2 separate regions of the Homo sapiens genome follow, and region 2 is linked to region 1. Evidence: promoter capture Hi-C in 16 types of primary human blood cells and fetal thymus (Javierre and others, 2016). All regions are on one chromosome and are shown on one strand. Each heading gives the region's core, a stretch centred on a gene start or on the middle of the fragment in contact. The rest is flanking DNA. Distances are from core to core; before and after follow the strand shown. Region 1 holds the start of PIGH (phosphatidylinositol glycan anchor biosynthesis class H). Region 2 overlaps RDH11 (retinol dehydrogenase 11).

Region 1 (4,384 bases), core at 1,885-4,384:
CTATAACTCTATAATTGTGAAACTTCTTAGCCTGCTGGGCATGGTGACTCATGCCTGTAATCCCAACTCTTTGGGAGGCTGAGGCCGAAGGATCACCCGAGCCTAGGAGTTTGAAAATAGCCTGGGAAACATAGTGAGATGCCATTTCTACAAAATATGCAAAAATTAGCCTGATGTGGTAGAGTGTGCCTGTAGCCCTAGATACTTGAGGGGCTGAGGTGGGAGGATCTCTTTAGCCCAGGAAGTTGAGACTGCAGTGAGCCATGACCGTACCACTGCTGCACTCCGCTTTCGGTGACAGAGCAAGACCTTGCCTCAAACAAAACAAAACAAACCAGAAAGAAAGAAAAAGAAAAGAAACTTCTTAGCCTGTACAGGTACCTTTTGTATTGTAGACCCTCTGGAAGTTTGGCGAAATGAATGGACCCTTTATTATAATAATGCTTTAAAATGTATAAATACATAGGACTTCTAAGAAAATCAACTAAATTAAAATATGGTTATCAAAATATTTTAAAAATGTGTTACAGTGATATGTTTCTCTTTATTGACACATTAAATAATAATAGCTAGTGATGGGTTTAATAATTACTGCAATTTTGAAGTAGCAATGACTAGAAATGACATTTTGAAACAATTATTGTGAAAAGAAAATATCTGTGATTTCTGTCAGTGACAAAAATCACAAGCTCTACTAATACTAGTTTGTTGCCCATATTCATAATCAAAAGAAATGTTAAATTTTAATTAGAAGTTAATGAAACTAAAAATGAAACACTGATTCTATCCGTGGAGCCCAAGTTAAGAACTCCAGGACTACAGGCTTCCCCAAAACATTAACAGTACTTATCTCTGAGTGATGGAAATATGGGTGGTTTACATTTTTTTCTTTTCTGTATTTTTCAAATTTTCCACAATAAGCAAATATCACTTTTATAATTATAAAACACATGATATATGCAATAGTAAAAGGGGTGATATGGTTCGGCTCTCTGTGCCTACCCAAATCTCATGTCAAATTGTAATCTCCACTTGTTAGGGGAGGGACCCAGTGGGAGGTGATTGGATCATGGGGACGGATTTCCCCCATGCTGGTCTCGTGATGCTGAGTGAGTTCTCTCACGAGATCTGACGGTTTAAAAATGTGGCACTTCCCCACTCCCCTCCTGCTGCCATGTAAGACATGCCTGGCTTCCCCTTTGCCTTCCACCATTATTGTAAGTTTCCTGAGGCCTTGCCAGCCATGTGGAACTGTGAGTCAATAAACCTCTTTTCTTTATAAATTACCGAGTCTCAGGTAGTTCTTTATAGCAGTGTGAAAACGGACTAATAAAAGGAGTGTATTAATTGTCAGATTCGGGGCACAGAAATAAAACTAGAAAAATAAAGAAGTGCTTGAAGAAATCCTTTAGGAAAAAAGAAAGGGAAATAAAATTCTGAATGAAGATGAAGAAACGGAACCTTTCATCAGAGAGACTTAAAGCTGGTGAGACCTTTATGCCATGGATCTTTTTTTTTTTTTAAATGAATATAGACACAGTCTTGCTCTGTTGCCCAGGCTGGTCTTGAACTCCTAAGTTCAAGTGATTCTCCTGCCTCAGCCACCCGAACAGCTGGGATTACAGGCATGCTCCACCATGCCCAGGTAATTTTTTTGTATTTTTAGTAGAGATGGTTTCACCATGTTGGCCAGGCTGATCTTGAACTCCTGACCCAAGTGATCTGCCCTCCTCAGCCTCCCAAAGTGCTGAGATTACAGGCATGTGCCACCATGCCCAGCCCATCACAAGTGTTTTGACAGTCCACATAGCCACTCCTGGGCCACATCAGAAGTAAAAATGGAACTCATAGGCCACTATTACTCATGAGTTTAGTAATTTTATTATCCATTTCTTCTGCATCTCCCGCTCCTGCTTAATTCCCAGCCAGGTCTTGCCTGTCTACCACGGTCCAAGCAGTCATTTGGGAGACAGAACTCCCAGGCAGTGAAATCCAAACTCCTTACCAGACCCTACAAGACCCTCTTGGATCTGACCCCTACCTGCCTCCCCAGCTTCCAACTGTTTTCCCCACACACCAACCTTTCTCGCCTTTTGATTATTTCATTAAGCCAAGCTTGTTCCAACTTCGAGGGGTTTGCCTTTCCTGGTCTTTCTTTCTGGCAAATTCCTCCTCCAGAGCTCCTTCAGTCCTGTCTGGCTCGTCACCCTTGTAACTCAGTGTCCTCTTACTTAGAGACTTCGCCTGACTGCCCTATGTAAAGTCCTCAGTCCATCCCTGCCAGTCAGCATAGTATTGCCAACGATACTCTCTTATTTCCATATTGTCTCCTACTAGAAAGGAAGCTGCCCGAGGGCAGAGACTGTCATCAACATCGTTCACTGCTGCATCCTCAAGCACCTCAAACTACCCGGCACAGGAAAAGAGTAAGTGAAATGAATACCCGTGGGCTCTCCTTGCGGCTCACTCTGGCTTAGAGAAATCGGCTTGCCAAGCAAAAGCATGATTAAAACTGTGGGTTTGGGCTGGGTGCGGTGGCTCACGCCTGTAATCCCAGCACTTCGGGAGGCCGAGGCGGGCGAATCACCTGAGGTCAGGAGTTTGAGACCAACCTGGCCAACATGGTGAAACCTGTCTCTACTAAAAATACAAAAATCAGCAGGGCGTGGTGGCGCGCGCCTGTAATCCCAGCTACTCAGGAGGCTTAGGCAGGAGAATCGCTTGAACCCGGGGGAAGCAGGTTGCAGTGAGCCGACGTCGCGCCATTCCGTCTCAAAACAAAAACAAACTGTGGGTTTGTTTTGAGACAGGGTCTTGCTCTCTCGCACAGGCTAGAGAGCAGGGGCATGATCTCCGCTCACTGCAACCTCGACCTCCCAGGCTCAAGCGATCCTCCCGCCTTGGCCTCCCAGTGCTGGACTACAGGCCTGAGTCAACGCGCCCGGTCTAAAAACGATTTTAATCTTTCCACTTAACTATTGCCCCGACGAGGTTTTTTCGAAGACAGTCAAGGCCGGCCCGGAAGAACGCACAACCATCAGCCCCCAGCAGAGCTCTCGGCGCGCAACTGAGGCTGCGCAGGCTTAGGGCGGGGCGTGGTGACGCGGCTGCCGGAAGCGGGTCTGGAGCGGGCGAGACGGCCAGGGCCGGCGAGCGCAGTGCAGCGCCGCGCGGTGCGGGCGGCCGAGTGGGGGCGTCATGGAGGATGAGCGGAGCTTTTCGGATATCTGCGGCGGCCGCCTGGCGCTGCAGCGCCGCTACTACTCCCCGTCCTGCCGGGAATTCTGCCTCAGCTGCCCTCGGCTCTCGCTGCGTTCGCTCACCGCTGTCACCTGCACGGTGTGGCTGGCGGCCTACGGACTCTTCACCCTCTGCGAGGTAATGGCAAGTCGGCCCCTCCCCGCGCTCGAAGGAGGGGGTTCGGCTTTGGGAGGGTCTTTGGGGTCTTTGGTCGAGCCCGGACCTCTGGTCGGCCCCTCCTACAGTGATAGGACAGGAGGGCGGGAACTCACGGGTTCTGGGGACGATATTCCGCTGCTGGACAGCTCTTTAAATGACGTTTAGTGAAATGTGTGCTCCTGGATAGTACATTCCCCTTCCGTGGCTGTGCTCTGCTCCGTGGGTTCACTCAGCATACATCTAGTTCTTGCGCGACGGCCTAAAACTTTAACTGCCATGTGTTCTATGTAGTATAGGCGCGCAGTAATTTAATTCCAAGAGTTCAAGGAACTACTAAGTGGGTCTTCCTCGTCCATCCCTTCTGCTCCTCAAAGTAGTACTGCTAACAATACTTTACGTAGACTTCCACAAACTGTCTTTGCCTCCACAAGTGTGTGTGTTTATCTGTGTGTATAGATAGAGTGTTATAGTTCTTCCTAATCTCTGTTTTTCAAGGGAGTTTTTTAACCCTCCCTCCTCCCAAACCCTTCCCCAATTTCAAGTACTTTCTAAAGGTTTATGAAATTTTGGACGTGTGTGATAGCTGTGCTCAATTTCCAGATTCATTCCTGTTTTCTCTGAGCCTCAATTTTCTACATCTCTAAAATAGAATTCATGCCTGCCATACCAGCTTCATGATATTGTGAGGGTTAAATGCAGTAACTTTGTGACAGCTCTCAAATAAAAAGAATTATCCTAATTTTCAGGATAAGTTCTAGTTTCATATGTAGTGCCTGAATTGAATGTATTATCCCAGAAGTGATCTAATCAGAGCTAAGTACAGCAGGGCTATTTATTTTTGTAACTTGGATATTGTTTCCATTACTGCATCCATTCGCTTTTTTGCTGTCAAAGCGTGTTTCAGAGCATGGTAATTTAGCATAGAAATATGCAGAATTAAGACTGCCCTAATTGCAGGAAACTATCTAACTATCTAAACCGTATG
Region 2 (4,705 bases), core at 2,026-4,525, 78 kb before region 1:
GTATTAGTCTGTTAAGGCTGCCATAGCAGAATCCCACAGACTGGGTGGCTTAAACAATATAAATTTATTTTCTCACACTTCTGGAGACTGAAAGTCCAAGATCAAGGTGCTGGCCTGGTTGGTCTCTGGTGAGGCCTGCCTTCCTGACTTCCAAATGGATGCCTTCTCTCTGAGCCCTCGCATGGCCTTTCCTCTATGTACACACACTCCTGGTGTCTCTTCCTCTTTTTATAAGGCCCTGTTGGATTAGGGCCCCGCCCTGATGACCTCATTTAACCTTAGTTACCTCCTTAAAGGCCCTCTCTCTAAATACAGTCACACTGGGGGTTAGGGATTCAACATATTAATTTTGGGGGAACACAATTGGAGTATAACAGTAAGCTTGTCAAAAATCAATTGACCATAAATATAAGGGTTTATGTTTCACTTTTCTGTTCCGTTCATTTGTATGTCTGTCCTTATGCCAGTATCACACTATCTTGATTACTATAGCATTGTAGTAAGTTTTGAAATTAGTTTATCTTTTACCTATACTAATTCTTAGCAAAATCCCCCTGGAAATGTCAATACTGTGACCATGCTGATGCCATAGGCACACTTAACTAGCTCTTACTTGGCTGGGCGCGGCGGCTCACGCCTGTAATCCCTGCACTTTGGGAGGCTGAGGTGGGCAAACTACTTGAGCCCAGGAGTTCAAGACCAGCCTAGGCAACATAATGAGACCCCATCTCTATAAAAAATGCAAAAATTAGCCAGGCGTGGTGGCGTGTCCCTGTGGTCCTGGCTACTTGGGAGGCTGAGATAGGAGGATCACCTGAGCCTGGGGAGGTTGTAGTGAGCTGCGATCACACCACTGCACTCCAGCCTGGGCAACAGTGAGACCCTGTCTAAAAAAAACAACCAGAAAGCTCTTGCTGTAGTATTTGATTAGTTTTTATAGCCTACAAGGAACCTTCATGTCAACTGTGTTCTTTGCTCTTAACTGTAACCTTATGAAGAGTATAAGGCACAGTGCAGTGGAGGATGCAGAGGCTTACAAAGGCTGAGTCATTTCCAGAGAGATACAGAGCCTTGTGGTTCTCACTGATGATCTTTTCACTAGGAAATGGCAAGTTGTACTGGTCATACTGGTGAGTCTTCTTAAACAGAAGTACTGATAAGACTTGTTTTGTAAACGTGACGATATTTTGAAATGGTATTTCTCAAACTTTAGTGTGTTCAAGAGTCATCTGGAAAACTAGTTGAAAATAGATTCCTGGACCACAACCCTAGAGATTCTCATTCAGTATGTCTGGAGTAGGGCTGGAGAATTTCTAACAAGCTCCCAGTTGATGCTCCTGCTGCTGGTTTGTGGTGCACACTTTGAATCCCACTGTCTTACTTGACATAGTGTTAAGAGTTTGCATATATAGTTAATTCAGACTTGTCAACTCTTTCACCTTCAGAATTTGCTTAGATACTGAGGAAGCAATTTTCTTGAAATAGTATACTTTTAAAAATTGTTTCCTCACATGACTAAAGATTGTAATACATTCAATCATTTTTTTTAAAACTTTGACTGAATGCTTACCAGATGTATACCAGATCCAGAGAATACAAAAATGAGTCAGAATTGTCCTTAAGAAAATTTTCTGCATCGGAATTATAAAATTATAAAACTTGGAATTACAGGCTGGGTGCAGTGGCTCATGCCTGTAATCCCAGCACTTTGGGAGGCCGAGGCAGGTGGATCACTTGAGGTCAGGAGTTCGAGACCAGCCTGGCCAACATGGCAAAACCCTGTCTCTACTAAAAATACAAAAATTAGCCAGTCATGGTGGCAGGCGCCTATAATCCCAGCTACTCTGGAGGCTGAGGCAGGAGAATTGCTCAAACCTGGGAGGCGGAGGTTGCAGTGAGCTGAGATCGCATCACTGCACTCCAGCCTGGGCGACAGAGTGAGACTCCGCCTCCAAAAAAAAAAAAAAAACTTGGAATTAATTACAGCAATGAAGAGAGGGTATATGAAACACTTTGCTATGATTTGAATGTGTCCCTCAAGGTTCATATGTTGGAAACTTAAGCCTCAATACAACAGTATAGAGAGGCAGGGCCTTTAAGAGGTAAATTAGGTCACAAGGGCAGCCCTCATGAATGGTTTAATGCCATTATCTCTGGAACGGGTTCATTATCTTGGGAGTGGTTCCTTATTAAAGGATGACTTGTGTCCCCTTCCCTCTCTTGCCCATGTCATGCCTTCCATCTTGTTATTACACAGCAAGAAGGCCTTCATCAGATGCCAGCCCCTTGATCTTGGACTTCTCAGCTTCCATAATCATAAGCCAGTTTCTGTATGCTCATTATAGTTACCCAGTTTGTCGTATTCTGTTACAGTACCACAAAATGGACCAAGACACCTCGTACCTTGGTTTTACCATTTCTTTTCTGTGTCGCCTTTTCCTTTTGTTGTTTTCGAAGCTGGCTTTACTTCTCATATGAGTTTACTAACAGTATAACTTCAAGGAGTCCAGAAATAAGCATTTCTTTTTTTTTTTTACTACTCCAGGCATCTCTGACCAATGTGAATAGCAGGATCTCAGCTATATGACATTGTCCAAGGCTCTGTAGAATGGGCCTTATGGACTTACTTGAAGAAGATGGATATACATGGGTGTCAGGCAGGCACTAATATTAAATTATATAAATAGGGGAATATAAAGACCAAATGTATGCATTATATATCAAACAAAGCATTCTGATGAGAGGTGGTCTAGCGAGGAGATCTAAAATGGTAATTACATTTTCTCTGGCTAAGGACTGGAGAATGAAGAGATAAGGACAAACACTGGCCCTGTGAAGTACATGGAGAACATGTGATCCCTAGTTGTTTTTATGTCATATTCCTTATCCCTGGCAGATGGCAGACTTCATTCTTAACACTGTGCTTCATACCTTTCTCTTTACCTTCCAGTGACTGTCATGTGGCATGGGTCTCTGCCCAAGCTCGTAATGAGACTATAGCAAGGCGGCTGTGGGACGTCAGTTGTGACCTGCTGGGCCTCCCAATAGACTAACAGGCAGTGCCAGTTGGACCCAAGAGAAGACTGCAGCAGACTACACAGTACTTCTTGTCAAAATGATTCTCCTTCAAGGTTTTCAAAACCTTTAGCACAAAGAGAGCAAAACCTTCCAGCCTTGCCTGCTTGGTGTCCAGTTAAAACTCAGTGTACTGCCAGATTCGTCTAAATGTCTGTCATGTCCAGATTTACTTTGCTTCTGTTACTGCCAGAGTTACTAGAGATATCATAATAGGATAAGAAGACCCTCATATGACCTGCACAGCTCATTTTCCTTCTGAAAGAAACTACTACCTAGGAGAATCTAAGCTATAGCAGGGATGATTTATGCAAATTTGAACTAGCTTCTTTGTTCACAATTCAGTTCCTCCCAACCAACCAGTCTTCACTTCAAGAGGGCCACACTGCAACCTCAGCTTAACATGAATAACAAAGACTGGCTCAGGAGCAGGGCTTGCCCAGGCATGGTGGATCACCGGAGGTCAGTAGTTCAAGACCAGCCTGGCCAACATGGTGAAACCCCACCTCTACTAAAAATTGTGTATATCTTTGTGTGTCTTCCTGTTTATGTGTGCCAAGGGAGTATTTTCACAAAGTTCAAAACAGCCACAATAATCAGAGATGGAGCAAACCAGTGCCATCCAGTCTTTATGCAAATGAAATGCTGCAAAGGGAAGCAGATTCTGTATATGTTGGTAACTACCCACCAAGAGCACATGGGTAGCAGGGAAGAAGTAAAAAAAGAGAAGGAGAATACTGGAAGATAATGCACAAAATGAAGGGACTAGTTAAGGATTAACTAGCCCTTTAAGGATTAACTAGTTAAGGATTAATAGCAAAAGATATTAAATATGCTAACATAGCTATGGAGGAATTGAGGGCAAGCACCCAGGACTGATGAGGTCTTAACAAAAACCAGTGTGGCAAAAAAAAAAAAAAAAAAAAAAAAAAAAATCCTAAAAACAAACAAACAAAAAAAACAATTCTTCATTCAGAAAAATTATCTTAGGGACTGATATTGGTAATTATGGTCAATTTAATAATATTTTGGGGCATTTCCTTACATTGTCTTGACAAGATTAAAATGTCTGTGCCAAAATTTTGTATTTTATTTGGAGACTTCTTATCAAAAGTAATGCTGCCAAAGGAAGTCTAAGGAATTAGTAGTGTTCCCATCACTTGTTTGGAGTGTGCTATTCTAAAAGATTTTGATTTCCTGGAATGACAATTATATTTTAACTTTGGTGGGGGAAAGAGTTATAGGACCACAGTCTTCACTTCTGATACTTGTAAATTAATCTTTTATTGCACTTGTTTTGACCATTAAGCTATATGTTTAGAAATGGTCATTTTACGGAAAAATTAGAAAAATTCTGATAATAGTGCAGAATAAATGAATTAATGTTTTACTTAATTTATATTGAACTGTCAATGACAAATAAAAATTCTTTTTGATTATTTTTTGTTTTCATTTACCAGAATAAAAACTAAGAATTAAAAGTTTGATTACAGTCAAAAGAAGAAAACACTGTTCATTATTATGGTTGTGCAATGATTTCTCATTCTAAAGAATAATTTGTTCCAGAGTCTAGCTACAGTGTAATCTCAATCCACATGCTATTAATTTAGGTTGTGTGATAATCTAATTG

What was found. Contacts are between HindIII fragments. The CHiCAGO score rates a contact against its expected background, and 5 or more counts as called.
Region 2: a fragment that was not itself captured here is called in contact with the fragment with the promoter of PIGH in region 1 in 3 of 17 cell types (total B cells, naive CD4 T cells and erythroblasts); the score reaches 6.0 in total B cells.

The regions. Positions count from the first base shown.
Region 1 is chr14:67,599,018-67,603,401 of GRCh38, reverse strand. It overlaps PIGH (phosphatidylinositol glycan anchor biosynthesis class H), which reads left to right and starts at 3,134. Exons shown (of 4, transcript NM_004569.5): 1 at 3,134-3,378. The coding sequence starts at 3,199. It also overlaps a transcript of GPHN not described here. RefSeq lists an enhancer at 3,137-3,456. The HindIII fragment of the contact is 5,160 bases long and covers 2,118-4,384 here.
Region 2 is chr14:67,676,669-67,681,373 of GRCh38, reverse strand. RDH11 (retinol dehydrogenase 11) reads left to right here. Exons shown (of 7, transcript NM_016026.4): 7 at 2,951-4,574. The coding sequence ends at 3,053. It also overlaps a transcript of GPHN not described here. Among named protein-coding and RNA genes, the nearest start is that of VTI1B, 4.4 kb to the right of the region's middle. RefSeq lists an enhancer at 88-382 and a silencer at 964-1,063. The HindIII fragment of the contact is 5,784 bases long and covers 384-4,705 here.